2 separate regions of the Homo sapiens genome follow, and region 1 is linked to region 2. Evidence: promoter capture Hi-C in 16 types of primary human blood cells and fetal thymus (Javierre and others, 2016). All regions are on one chromosome and are shown on one strand. The core of a region is centred on a gene start or on the middle of the fragment in contact, and the rest is flanking DNA. Distances in the headings are between cores, read along the strand shown. Region 1 overlaps SKAP1 (src kinase associated phosphoprotein 1). Region 2 holds the start of LINC02086 (long intergenic non-protein coding RNA 2086).

The links. The method cuts DNA at HindIII sites, captures the fragments that hold promoters and counts their contacts. A CHiCAGO score of 5 or more calls a contact.
Region 1: a contact is called between a fragment that was not itself captured here and the fragment with the promoter of LINC02086 in region 2, in 3 of 17 cell types (endothelial precursors, M1 macrophages and M2 macrophages). The highest score is 5.8, in endothelial precursors.

The regions. Positions count from the first base shown.
Region 1 is chr17:48,357,825-48,365,053 of GRCh38, reverse strand. SKAP1 (src kinase associated phosphoprotein 1) reads left to right here. Exons shown (of 13, transcript NM_003726.4): 3 at 1,240-1,265. Among named protein-coding and RNA genes, the nearest start is that of SKAP1-AS2, 67 kb to the right of the region's middle. The HindIII fragment of the contact is 990 bases long and covers 1,348-2,337 here.
Region 2 is chr17:48,640,831-48,647,851 of GRCh38, reverse strand. It overlaps LINC02086 (long intergenic non-protein coding RNA 2086), which reads right to left and starts at 5,225. Exons shown (of 8, transcript NR_189645.1): 1 at 1,490-5,225. LINC03057 (long intergenic non-protein coding RNA 3057) reads left to right here and starts at 1,000. Exons shown (of 2, transcript NR_186590.1): 1 at 1,000-1,247. RefSeq lists enhancers at 207-416, 1,307-1,356, 795-1,463, 4,631-5,627, 5,628-6,626 and a silencer at 907-1,086. The HindIII fragment of the contact is 12,737 bases long and covers 3,071-7,021 here.

The DNA.
Region 1 (7,229 bases), core at 593-3,092, 280 kb after region 2:
TAAGCATCTAGGTGTGGTGGCGTGTGCCTGTGGCCCCAGCTACATGGGAGGCTGAGGTAGGAGGATCCCTTGAGCCCAGCAGGTCAAGGTTGCAGTGAGTGACGTTCATGCCATTGCATTCCAGCTTGGGTGATAGAGCAAGGCCTAGTCTCAGAAAAAAAAATAGATAAATAAAAGACTTCAAGGGTTGTCAGTTTTGCCAATTATTTCCCAAAATAATAGAGGAGATAGGATGGTACAATGAACTGCAAGAGCCCCATTCTTGGCTCAGACACTAAAATGTTAGACAACCTTAAGTCAATTGCACTAAAACGTTAGACAACCTTAAGTCAATTGTTCATGTTTCACTTGTTGTTGTTGTTGTTTGTTTTGTTTTGTTGAGATGGAGTCTCGCTCTGTCACCCAGGCTGGAGTGCAATGGCGCGATCTTAGCTCACTGCAACCTCCGCCTCCTGGGTTCAAGCGATTCTCCTGCCTCAGCCTCCTGAGTAGCTGGGATTACAGGCACACGCCACCATGCCCAGCTAATTTTTATATTTTTAGTAGAGACAGGGTTTCACCATGTTGGTCAGACTGGTCTCGAACTGCTGACCTCATGATCTGCCTGCTTTGGCCTCCCAAAGTGCTGGGATTACAGGCGTGAGCCACCACACCCGGCCCATGTTTCACTTGTAAAATTAAGAATTTAGGTTTAAAAGGCAAAGCCCAGGAGTTCGAGGCTGCAGTGAGCTATGATTGTGTCACTGTACTCCAGCCTGGGTAACAGAGAAAAAAAAAATTAGGCTTCAGAGGCATTTGAGATGTGTTGGTGTTGGTGGTGGGGTTTGACTGTTATAACAACTGGGAATGCCTCTGGTATTTGGTACCTAGGACCAGTGTAATACACAGTCCTGTAATACACAGGCCAGATTGTCACAACAAAGAACCATCCTGCTGAAAGCCCGTAGAGCTCTTGATGAGAAACCCCAGGCCACCGCTAGGTTCCCTTTTAGGACCTTTCCAGCTCTAAAGTCAAAATTACGTGAGGAATTTCAGTGAATTAAATGCATCTTTTAAGCCATTGAGACTCTTTCAAATCTCAGGGATAACCTTTTGTTTTTCTCAAAATTAGTAGTGACTTTGGCTGGTTATAGACTTTAGCAAGCTTTTTGGACCAGGTGCTATAGCTATGGTAGGCCAACCAAAATTGAGAAATACAAGTTTGACTTATTCCCTTTTTTTTTCCCCCTTGTATTTCAGGTACTATTGGGATTTTCAGCCCCAAGGTGAGTCCTCTTTGACCACGTATGGTTTTATGCTAAAAATGTGTAAATGGGATTGTTTATTCCTGTCTCTTCTCTACAAGCTTCTCCACAGAGTGGCATTAACCATTTCCAAGGAAAGTTAGTGGAGTGTTTAATTAACCTTCACCCTGCTGCGCTCCCCTGCCCTGCTTTTTAGCAACAAGAAGCTCTATGCTTCCTCCTTCTGAGTGGACTGTTGCTAGATTATTTTATAAAACCAAGGCTATAATATGCTTTAATTCCTTGAGCTTTGTTAGGTGCCAACAGGATCCAGTAGCATTCAAATAAAATGGTAGCCAAGTCCATAATAAAAACCTTGGGAGGGTTCCAACTCAGCTAATCCTTCATTTGCTCCAGAAATAAATTCCAGTATGTTACCTCCTCGATCACAGTGCCCTTCCACACAGCCTGCCTGTCTGGCAGCAGAGAAATGTCAGAAATGGAGCAGTGTTGAAATTCCCACTAGAACAGTGTTATCACATTTTAATATGAGCCTTGCTGCAGCCTCAGTGCTTCTAATTGCTTTCAAACCATTGTTTTCCTGCTTTTGCTTGATGAACCCAGCATCTGGCATGATTCTAAAAAGTACTACAGACAGCTGTGTGCAAAATTAAAAAAAGAAAAAGGCCAGGATTAAAACACATTTTTAAAAGGTTCAGAATTGAAATATTTTTTTCCGAATTCAAACAGTTTGAGGGGATATCTTTTAAAGTATTTGCCTTCCTTCTTTTTAGTACTCTGGTTGAGAATGTCAGAAACATCAACCTGAATATTATCTTAATTTATTATAAATGGAGGGGCTTTATTTTCTCAGATAATCACAGAGTTTTAGATCAAACTTACAAATAGCTTTATAAACTATTTTGCTCTATAACTTTCTTAACCAATTGTAAACTTTTTAAGTACTTTTTATTCTCTTAATGTTGTCACTGTATCCAACCTCAGTGAATAGTAATACCTTAAATAAATTAAAATTGTGAGTGATTATAAGTTTTATTAAAATTTTTATTTTTCTGGCTCATGCTTTTAGTGTATTTCAAGTTTTTATAAAGCTTTATTTTAAAGCCATCTTTAAGAAATAAAAACCATACATTTTCAAAGCTTCTTGACTCTCATAAGTTAAAGTTGGAGCACTTACACTATTTTACGTAATGTGATGTGCTGTTACTACATATCTCACTGTCCTAAAGCATTTATAGCTGAAAACATAGATTGAGCAGTGGATAATTTTATGTAATAATGTAGCAATTTGCTTCGCAAAATGTGAATTGCACTATTCAGGGGATGGCCCTATAGTTCAGGGTTTAACAGATGTTAACCAAAATCCACAGGGGGAAGCACATGATTGTGAACTGGCAGAAATGAATGGAACTGTGAGGGTAGAATTAATTACCTAAAGGAGAAATAAAGAGTTAGTGTCAGAGATGTGGTATAGGAATAGGTTGAGAAGAGAAAATAATTTTGGAGCTTAACACAAGAGACTATATGGGACTAAAAAAGACAAAAGGCACATCTTACCAGATTCTTGAAATGCTGGCATTGCAGTCATCTTTCAACATAAAGCAGCTTCTACCCATCCTTTCTCTCTTGGAGAGAGGACAGAGGTAGAGCAGCCAAGGAGACAAGTGAAAATAGTTTATTTAGAACAGAAAACTGTATTTGCTTCTTGACAATGATTAAATATATGTGGCAAAGTCTTAGTGCATTTGGAAGTAAATGTAAGGAAAGATGACATAGAAAAACTCATGCCCTAGCCCCCAGTCTCATGACTTCTCACAGATATTTTCAGGGGTAGGAGGAGTTAGTGAGAGGGTATCTTTTACCTTGCCCTTTTGATCAGACCTTAGCTGATTATGTGCTTCAGAAGCTGGTGGGATGGGTAGGAGGAGTAAGTGGTTTAGATAAGGTACAACAGGACAATTTAAGATTATGAAAAGATTAGAAATATGTAAGAAAGAGAACAACTAGCAGAAGAATCTTAAAAGCCCTGGAAAACTGGGTGGTGTTGGGATGGGAGTGAGAAAGAACAGAAATGCTGGCCCCAAACTTTCTGAGCATTTTTATCTGTGACAGGACCCTCTGTACAAGAAGATGATGGGATGAATTTTATTAACTCTGCATCTGCCTAAAAACACACTTGAGTTCTTCAAGATATTTGAACTAAACCAGGTCTGGTGCCTGGAAGGAAAATAGTCTTTAATTATAAAAGATCCATTATTTGTATATCCTTTTAGTAGCACACATTTTAAAAATAGCAGCCTTGGCCGGGTGCGGTGGCTCATGCCTATAATCCCAGTACTTTGGGAGGCTGAGGCAGGCAGGTGGATCACCTGAGGTCAGGAGTTCGAGACCAGCCTGACCAACATGGTGAAACCCTGTCTCTACTACATACAAAAAATTAGCTGGGAGTGGTGGTGCATGCCTGTAGTCCCAGCCACTTGGGAGGCTGAGGCAGGAGAGTCGCTTGAACCTGGGAGACGGAGGTTGCAGTGAGCCGAGATTGTGTCATTGCACTCAAGCCTGGGCAACACGAGCAAAACTCTGTCTCAAAAAGAAAAAAAAAAAAAAACCAAGGCAGCCTTATCAAGATATAATTCACATACCATAAAATTTACCCATTTAAAAGGTACAAGTTAGTGGTGTACAGTATAGTATAGTATAGTATAGTATAGTATAGTATAGTATAGTATAGTATAGTACAGTACAAGTTGTGCAACCATCACCACTATCTAATTTCAGAACGTTTCATCACCCCAATAAGAAACCCTGTATGGATTCTAGAGCCCATTATCTCCAGAGGTCGAGAGCCCATACTCTTCGTGACTGTTTTTCACTGTCTCATTGCAAGGTTGTTGAAGATTAGTAGTAATGTGTGTAAGCATCGAGCTTAGTACCTTGACATAGTGGGAAAAAAAAAGCCAGTAGTTTCTATTTATCATAATGGGACATTAATGGTAATTCTTTCTCTCACATTTCCACCTGCGTTTTTTTATTGGTCCACTGTCAACTTCCTGAATGATATTTATTTTAAAAAGGAAACAGGGAAAATAAAACATGATCCAAAGAATACATTACTTTAATGTAGAGGGGATATAAATGGAAGGGCACTTTTAATGAGCTTAAACATAATTGGAGAACATGAAAGAGGCTTTTTATTTTTACTTGACAATAAGACATAATATTGCTTTAATAATTCATGTCCTGCTTACTCAAAAAAAATTTCTACTTAATTTTTTACTTAAAGTTACAAAGAAAAGCCAGCGGAGTTTTTGCCATGGAATTTTTATAATTTCAGTAATCAATATCTAAAAGGTGATATCGATAAGGGAATATTAATTTTGCCCTTAGATTTGATGGCAATATCACTTAAAGTTATTGAGCAAACTGATTTCCTTCATTTTGCTTCAGTTTCCCCTTTTATAAAATGAGTTAGTGATAGTTTTAATAAAAAATTTGATTATAAGGTATAATGTTTATAATTCAAAATTTATTTGCTATAAAAAAATCTTCATGAATATTAGATTGAATTTCCCACCATAGACCCAGAATCTAAAACAAATGACATAATATTTAAATAAAAATCTAGGGAAGACCATGGGAATATTATATAGAATAATATCTTTTTTTTATCCAGTGGTCACTCACATTACATTTGTGGTAGTGGTAAACATGGGCCAGTGGAATCTCTTGCCAACTTAAAGATTCTTTGAGTATCTCTATGAGTGGTGTAAAAGGTTTCTGAGAAAATTATTCAGTATATTTCATTATGAAAAAATTCTACTTTGTGAAGCTTAAAAATCTCATTTTGAAATGGCAAGCCTATATTCACGTCAAAGTAAATCGATGCCTAATAATATAGCCTGGCAGGCCAGGCACAGTGGCTCATGCCTGTAGTCCCAGCACTTTGGGAGGCTGAGCAGGTAGATTGCTTGAGCCCAGGAGTTTGAGATCAATCTGGGCAACATGGTGAGACCCTGTGTCTACAAAAAAAACAAAATTAGCTGGGCATGGTGGCACAGGCCTGTAGTCCTAGCTGCTTGGGAGGCTGAGGTGGGAGGATCACTCAAGCCTGGCAGGTTGAGACTGCAGTGAGCCGAGATCGCGCCACTGCACTTCAGCATAGGAGACCGAGCGAGACCTTGTCCCAAACACACAAACAAAGAAATAAACAAATAAAAATATAGCCTGGCAAAAACAAATAGTGCTAAGTGAATAAGGAAATTATAAAGCCATGTTAACTGTAAATTAAGAGATTTAAGAGGTTTACCAACGAATGTATAAACTTTGTGCATTCTGAGTCAAGCAAACTATTAAAAAATGACATCTATGAGAGAATTAGAAATTTGAACACTGGTTATTTTATGTTATTAGGAAACTACTGGATTTTTTTAGGTGTAGCAGTGGTATTATGGTTAATTTTTTTAAAAACAGTTCTTTATTTCAGAGAGAGGTGTGCCATGATATTTAAATATATAATGTCTGACAAATAATATGGGAGAGGAGAAAGAAACAGGGTAAATATAGATGAGATGAGATCGGCCATAAGTTGACACTTGTTGAAGCTGAATGATGTATATATGGGAGTTTATTACACTGTTTTGTCTACTTTTATACATGTTTAAACTTCTCCATAATGTAAAGGTAAAAGAAAAAGGTTGAGATTGATTAAAAATGTAACATTTTTCTTTTATCTCTATCATGAGATCTAGTATATTAATGCATATATTGCTTTATGCATCTGGATATAAAGTACATAGAATAGTGAACTGATTTTTTAAATTGTTGTTCAAGTTAATGTTTTATGATAGAAAGAGCCTAAGCTTTGAAATCATACCTGAATTCGAATCCCAGCTCCTCTACTTAGAAACTTTGTTAGCTACGGCAAATTACATCAATTCTCGAAGCTTCAGTTTCCTCATGTATAAAATCTCACTAATAATATCTACTTCACAGTTACTATGAGTTGTAATGAGTTTTAATGAGATTATAACTCATAAGGAGTGCTTGCCACATGGTAGGCACTTACTAAAGTGGTAACAAATATTATGTCTCAAAGTAGGGCGAGGCAAGTACATACATGTATAAAACCTTGATAATAAAATTTTCATGTATCTTTTCATAAAATTCATTCATTCATTATAGCTGAACACTGGTGTAGGGCCATGAAACTCACCATGTATATATTTGTAAGGTTTGTATTTATAGAGAGCATTTTTATTGGTGGTAGCCACTTCAGAGGCTAGATTTACAAGCTTTTTGCTATATGGTGTCTGAGACATGTTGAATGGAAGAACAAATGTTGCTTAACTTCTTGTCCCTTATGGTCACATACTTGGAGCATGTAGTTATGACAACTACAAGAAGCAAAACATTAAAGCAGCAAAGAAACACCATCTTTACACTTTAAAAAAAAGAGGAAGGAAATTTCCTTTGAAGTTGAAGAGAAGTGTTTTTGAATTAATGGAGTGTACAGTGATTTTACTAAATTTTATTTATGAAAATACTCTTTGCATTCATGCCAAAAGGTTTTAGCACAGTCATAAGTAGGATTTATACAAAGAAACACAGCCCAAATTTATGACGTGTTTGCAAATGTAAGAAAAAGTCTAAATTTACAATATTTATAATTTATTGTTAAGTATCTTTCCACCACTATTCCTGGAATGCTGATATTTTATAAACACAAGCACTGGTTTTGAACCTAGACTATCTCAACCTATACTACTTTTTAAAAAAAGAAATATTCCAGCATGTTTTTCATGTCTTTTGGGGATTTAATAAGGGGGAAATGAACCCAGGCTGAATACTCCTGCCTTTGGCTTTGACTCAACCTTTTAACATCAACAGTCTTGACAGCTGCTTTTGTGGCTTGACTTCCTTCAGGCATTTTCCCCCTTTTTCTTATTTGCTACATTTTATACAAATTAATCTGTAGCAAGTGGACAC
Region 2 (7,021 bases), core at 3,976-6,475:
GCCAGGAATGCCACTGTTTGTCGTAGTTTCACTGATTTTAAGGAGGTTAAACCTCTATTTGGGTCTCAGAAATAAAGAGAAGAGCCTGCAATTCCAGGATAGCACGCTAACGAAGGGCCAAAACGCAAAGGCGTCCTGAGGGCTAAGATGGAAAGTGAAACTTTCAAGCTCCTTCTCTAACCTTGGCCAAGGTCGTTCCCTCTGGGTTCATAGAATAGGGAGGAACCCATGTAAGGCACAGGGAACAGAAGAAAGGAGGCAGGTAGAGGGACAACCTTCAGCCTGGTGCAGCCATCCCGGTCGAACAACCCCAGGCAGGAGCCGCTCGGTGGCCGAGGATGGCGGGAAGTCGCTGGGCTGCGGCTGGGGCGGGAGGTGGGCGGAGGAGGGTCCGGCGCTCTCTTTCTCCGGATTCGGAGCCCTAAGTGTGGATCAGTCGCCTCCCGCCCAGGGTGTGAGCGCCCCCTCCCCTTCTCAGCCTCCTTCGGCCTCGCCCCTCCCTCTCACATTTCCAACTCCCAAGGATAACTTGTCGCTCGCTTCAGACGCCCATGGCTTCTTTCAGCCCCTGGGACTCAGCTTTCTCCTCTACCTCTTTTGTCTATTTGTGCATTTGATGTTTCTCTGGGCGCGCCCTTGGATCTGCTTCTCTCTTGCCTTTTATATTCTCATATTCTCATATTCTCTCTCTCTCTCTCTCTCTCTCTCTCTCTCTCCCTCCCTCCCTCCCTCCCTCTCTCCCTCCCTCTCTCCCTCTCTGCCTCTCTCCCTCTCTCTCTCTTCTCTCTCTCTCTCTCTTCTCTCTCTCTTCTCTCTCTCTCTGCTCTCTCCGGCCATCTGGGCGCTGCTCCTCCGCGCCTCTGGCCTCCCCGCGGCGCGCCAGGCCCATCTCCTCACCAGCCGCTCTGGGATCCGACGGCGCCGTGGGTGGGGGCAGGTGAGACGGCCGAGCCCCGCCCGGGCGGAGGCAGGAAGCGCTCTCGCCTATCCCCCTCCCGGACCCTGTCCTCGCCCGCCACTCACCGGCGCCAGGGGAACGCAGGAGCGTGAGCCCCTTCGCGCCCCCAGCGCCGTCGGCGTCGCTGCCCCAGACACAGACACTGCCTCGAGAGGCCTCACAGAGGCGGGGGCAGAAGGCGGCGACCCAGAGCCGCCACATCCCCCGCCTTGGGCGCCGTCACAGTCCCCAGACGCCCTGGACTCCTGCAGTCTACGAAGACGCGCGGGGGACGGCGTGGTTCCGAGAGGTAGGTGAGGAGGCGGGCGCAGCCCTTCCTCTCGCAGCTGGGGACTGCGGCGTGAAAGGCCCCTCTCCAAGCTGGGCAGCCCCGTGGCCCGAGCTTTCAGGACCAACCGCCCGTGGCAGGCGTGGGCTTCCCGGGGCCACCGGCTTAACCTTGATCTCCAGACCGAGGCAGCTTCCCGGGTAGGGCCTCGGGGCGCACCCGAAAACGCCTTGGCCTCCCTGTCCGCTGGCACCCGACCCTACCTCTCCAACAGGTGTGTGTGTGGGGAAAGGGGGTCGCCTCCCCTCGTTCTACCGGAAACCCTGGCTCCCCAGAGCCGAGTGCTCAGTGCCCCGCCCAGCCTGAGGCCCTGCGTCCTGGGCCTCCTGCTCACAACCCCGGATTCCAGGCGGATGCCGTGAGAGAGGCAAGGGCCAGACGCCCTGAGCAGCCTTGGGGGTGAGGAATCGCTTGGGATGGAAGAAGGGCCACTTTTCCTAACGGAAATTAGGAATTGGCCTGGAACTCTTGGTCTAGACAGAAGCCCCCAGCTCCCCAAGGTGCAGAATCAGCTCTCCCGCGCGCTGTCTCTCTAGCTGCCTCCTGGCGTGGAGGGGGCAGAATACTTGGGGGAGTCTCTTGCTTTGGCTTTTGGGGGCCTCATAGGTTTTCTTCCCCTCTGGACTGTGAGCAGCCTCCTGCCTGAGAGAGCGTGTATCTGAATCTAAGGAATGCCAGGAGACGCCATCTTATTTGAAACCCACACTCACAAAAACGGGGCATGTGCATTTTTGTGGAGGGACCTGTTGTTTATGGGAGTGGGCAGAGGGCATCCAAAGGATTTCAAACTGTATGGACTGACTCATGGGTCAATACAAAAATTATTCGCCTTTGAAAAGGCATGTAAAGAAAAGCAAGCATAAAGGGGTGTGCATCGTGCATCGTGGGTATTGTGGAGTCTGAGAGGAATTAGTAACTCGCCGGAGTCGGCTAGGAATCTTATATGACAGCAACTGTGCCTCTCGGAGTAGTCAAGCACCGTTTAAAGATTGAGGATTTATACAGACATGCGAAAGAGATGTGAAATTATGTGCTCCCAACTGTGCTCAATAATAAAGGCAGTAGAAGGGAAATTCATATTTTCATCTATATGCCTCCCCCCTCGCAAAGTAGAACATTGCATGGTATATTTCACATAGTCCACATACCAGAGGCGGAATGTGCAACTGACTGCCCAGGACTGTGCTTTCCAGTACAAATGGAAGCACAAAGATGCCTAATGGAGAAGAGTTAAGTGAAAGTTCTCTTTTCTCAGTGCACTTCCCTAACCCTTTGAGGAAGCAAGTCTGGGGGGCCTTTCCTGATAGGATCTTCCCTCCAAATCCCTTTTGGAGCTGGAGCTCCTCTCTTTCCCTAAAGTCTGGCGCACTTGGCTCCAAGTCCCCATTTCTCCAGTCCAGAAGGGATGAAGCCTCCTCCACCCCAAACATATAGCCTTTGGCTCGCTGGGAGGAGAATTGCTCACCTTCTGCGGTGGTTTAGAACACCACCCTACACAGGGATACACATACACAGTGCCCCAGAGGAAATGCAAAGAAAGGTTTTGCTAGTCCAAGCAAGGTGTTGTGGGAGACCTCAGAGACCCTTAGAAAGAGCCTCACTCCCCACACTGCAACTTGAAAGACCCAGGACATCCCTCCCACCCCCAGGACAGACAGGGTTCTCACCAGCTGGGAACGCACAGAGCCCGTGACAACAGGAGGATCTGTTGGGCTGGGAACTTCACATCCCACCCACCCTGCCTCCAACTTCTTTTTTTTTCTGGCCAGATTAAAAGTCAAGCTTAAAGTGCTGTTGGGTTAGAGAGTTTCATTGTTTTAGTCTATTGGTTTCTCTCCCTCATTTTCTTCTCCCTCATCTCCCTTTTACTCCCAGGTTTTGCCCATTTTTTTTCTCTCTCTCCACACAGAAAATCTGTGAATTTTCTGGGCTTGAACGGAAGGAATGAGGAGGGAAAGGAGGGAATATTTGACCTATCCAGGCAGCACTCAGAGCTGTAATTGACACCAAGTCATCCTAGTAGACCTTGTCCTCACAGGCTTAGAGGATATTTGATTCCAGAATCCCCCACCAGCACCCCAAGATCCAGTGGTACCTCCTTCCTCCTTGGGGCTTCTATAGTTTTCAAAAATGGGAGAAATCAAAAATGCCATCATTATTCCAGTGACCGGGTGTGGAGGGAGTCTGCAGTTTGGCCAGAGGCCTGGTCTCAGAGAAAGGAGTCCTGAGGGCTGGGGGGTTGGGGCAAGGCCTAGGGCCAACTTGGTTCTGACCTTGCCTGCCAGTAGAGAATCTTGGGCTCTTCACCAAGTAAAGGCAAGATCAAGGGACTGGAGGTCTGAGTCCCTCTCTTGCCTAACTGCCCCAAGGGCCCCAGAAACTACTCTGGGCCAAAAATCAGTAATAGTTGAAAGAAAGAAACAAATACTGAAAACACCCAGATTTATAATCTGCTTAGACACCCAAACTCATCCTTAAAGCAGTAAATAAAATTTATCTCCTTGACTGCCTTGCAACTTTCTACTCAGTTTGGCAATGTGTAGATGGGGTCAGCTTGAGTTTCAGAGCTTGGGGGTCCAGCACTAAATGTCTAGAGAGCTAGATCTGGGGCCTCTCACCCCCTTTCCTCATATACCTCCTCTTGCTTCCTTCCCCTCCCAGGGCTTCTCAGAAAGTGACAGCTGACTTCCTTTTAGAACTGTGAAATCCCACAATTTCAGAGGATTTCAAATTCCTTGAACTTCAGGTTGAGAGCTATTTGGATTAATCAGAGAAGTTTGTGTCTGGAAAATGATGCCAGATTTAGCCAGAAAACTGAAAGACCAAATGCTTTACTTTTTTTTTCCTTTGTCTGATCTCAGTGCTTATCAGGTCAACCTTCACCTTTAAAAACACCCTGGTGGCAGTATTTCTTTGCCATCACTGTCTGTAAAGCAAAGGGCAAGCATCTCAGGGCTTTTAGTTGGGCCGGGAATTCAAATGTCTCCTTTCTCAAGAAGATGCCAAAGTGGCCACCCTCAGCCCACTTTCCGTCCTTACCTCCTCTGCCCTTTCCCCAGCTGTAGTTATAGGAATAATGGCCTTTAACTTGCAGAGATCATTAAGGCCAAAGCCCTCACTCCTTCCCATCTCTCCTCTTGGGGCCGTCTGAGTCGCTTCCTCCACGACCCTCCTCTTTTGAAGCACTCCCTAGTACTGTTAAAGGCCGAATTTGGGCTGGAGCGAAGATGGGGGCTCAGTCCAAAATAACCTAGATATTAAGTAATAGTAATGATTTTTTTAAAAGGTAACTATGAACTCTCAAGCCTCGACCACCCAGTAAAGTTCCTCCTTAAATTGTTGCCGGCCCTGGGTGCAGACACGCAAGGACTGGCCAGAACGCGAGAAACTTCTTCAAGGAGAGAGAAGTCAGGGCCCAAATTCCTCATGCTTTAAAGCAGTATAAGAGGAGAGAGTCCAAATTTTTACTCGTTAAACCTCCTCTTACCTCTTCCTCAGGTCTGTTCACTCCTTGGTCCAGGGACCGGAGCTCCTGGGCTTCGAGGTGAACCAGAGGGAACGTGGCTCCCCGCAGCAACCTTTTTGCTTCAGGGCTCCTCCTGGGGGCTGAGTGGTCCCCTTTGCTTTGCTATTCCCGCTGCGGCTCCTGGGGGGACAGCTCCGTGGGACCAGGTCTCTCAGGGGGTGGAGGGTCGCCGAAGTCGTGACCAGGAGTTGGAGACCGCTGCGTCCCTCCGCTGCGGACCTGCCTGGGACTGCGTGGAATGGACCAAGTCCTCCGTCTAGGATTCCCTAGTGCTCGACGGCGCGCACTCCGCAGTGCTCCGCTGGAGATCTGCACCTGTGTCCCGGGGCTGGGCGCAGAGTGAAGATCTCCGTGCACGCTGCTGACCGGCTCGGCGACTGCCTCCCTGCTGTGAGCAGGAGAACAGGAAGTCTGCCCGACAGGGAGGTGGCCGGGCGGGAGCGGCAGAGTCGGCGTTGAGAGGAGGGTCAGCTGCACCTCGGGATTCCGCGCGCCTTCAACTCCCTCTTGCGGACAGCCCAGCCGCGGGTTGGCGCCGCAGTGATGGAACCTGGGGAGGGCCTAGCTTAGAGTCCCAGCAGTCCAGAGGAGGGGACCAGAGCAGAGGATTAGGAACGGGGCTTTCATATCCAGCCTAGGCGCCCAGAAGCGGCACTTAAGGGGCGAAGGGAGGCCGCAATTACAAAGGTGCGCCCTCCGACGCCTCAACGTCAAGGGCCTGTAGATTCACAACCTCCTCTGTCGGGGATGGGGGAAGATGAGGTGGGATAGGGAGGCTATGTCCAGCCACCAGCGCAGGGAGTGGCTCTAAACGCTGACCCAACGCCTCGCCCCAAGCGGGATCTTGGCGCGCAGATAGACCGAGCCCGTGGTGGGGCGCCATGCCGGGCTCCCTCGCCCTTACCGAGTGAGCATCTTCTTCCCAATTTGCTGCTCAGAGAGGGAGTGGGTCCTAGTCTCTGGATCTCAGCGCTCACGACTACCTCGCTGCTCCTAACGAACGGTTCATCTGCTCTCTCCTGGCCGCCTGCGCCAGCGCCGCTCACCCACTTTTCCAGCCCTGGATCTCCTCTCCCCGGATGCGTCCTTCCTTCCCACAATTAACAAATGATCTAGCGAAACCCCGCCAGGTCCCCGGCAGAGAAGCACCTCCATCCGCCCTAACCAACCAATTAATCAGATCATTAAGGAGCCTGAGGAGTTGTAATTGGGTGGTTTGGGACGAGGGGGCGCTGAGGAGGTCATTAACCTCCCCGTAAAGATGGGGAACGGAGACGCGCCTGGCCGCCTCTGCCGCCCCTGCCGCCCCTGCCGCCCCTGTGGGCTCTTCTTAGCACGCGGGTTTTGGCCACTCCACCTGCCTGCTGCGCTCCAGTTCCCGCCTCCAGTCCAGCTATTTCACTTCTCTCTTTGTCATTCTCCGTCTTTTCTCTGGCAACCGTCCAGGGCCCCTTTCTTTGTGCCTACTTCTGTCTACCTGTCCAGCTGCCTCTTGCACCCTTTCTGTGGCCCAGCGGCCAAGAAAACTCAAAGGTCATGGCTGTTGGCCCCCGCTGATGATCTCTGGGCTCCCGGGTCTCAGACAATTCCTCAGGGCTGGCTAGAAATGGTGGGAGCTGGAGATTTGGACACTATACCCATTCCCCAAGAGAAGGGCATTTGCAAAGGGGAAGTGTTTCCTGAAACGTTCAATTCTCTTTCGGTATGAGATAGCTTTGGACAAGGTGACAAATGGCGGAAGGTCCAGGCCCCAGTGGATAAAAGCTCCATATTAATTTAATTAGAGACACAGAGACCTTGCATACTCCTTGTCTGCACAGGCAAATATGGAGGAGGTAGTGATTGGGTGTTGTGGCCTGACTGGTCTCAGTCTAAGAGTCCCCAGCACCTGTGACCTGGTTCCTGGTGTTCCAAGAAGTCCAGGTGACAGTATCTGTTCAACCTTGTGGAACAATAAATTGTTTGTCCTTTTAATTTGTCTTGTCAGATCCCCAAGTATATTACAATGCCTCCCTCTGCATTACATTTTTGGTTGGTTGTGTAAGAATGGTGGATGAGAGGTTCTTAACATTTTGGGGCCACTCCCTGATATGATAATTTAAATTTTGATGAACAATATTGATTCCCCTCTACCCAGAAAAAAAATGTGCGTATGTAGTACTCACCAAATCCCACAATTTCAGAGAGTTTCAGACTCCTCAGACACCAA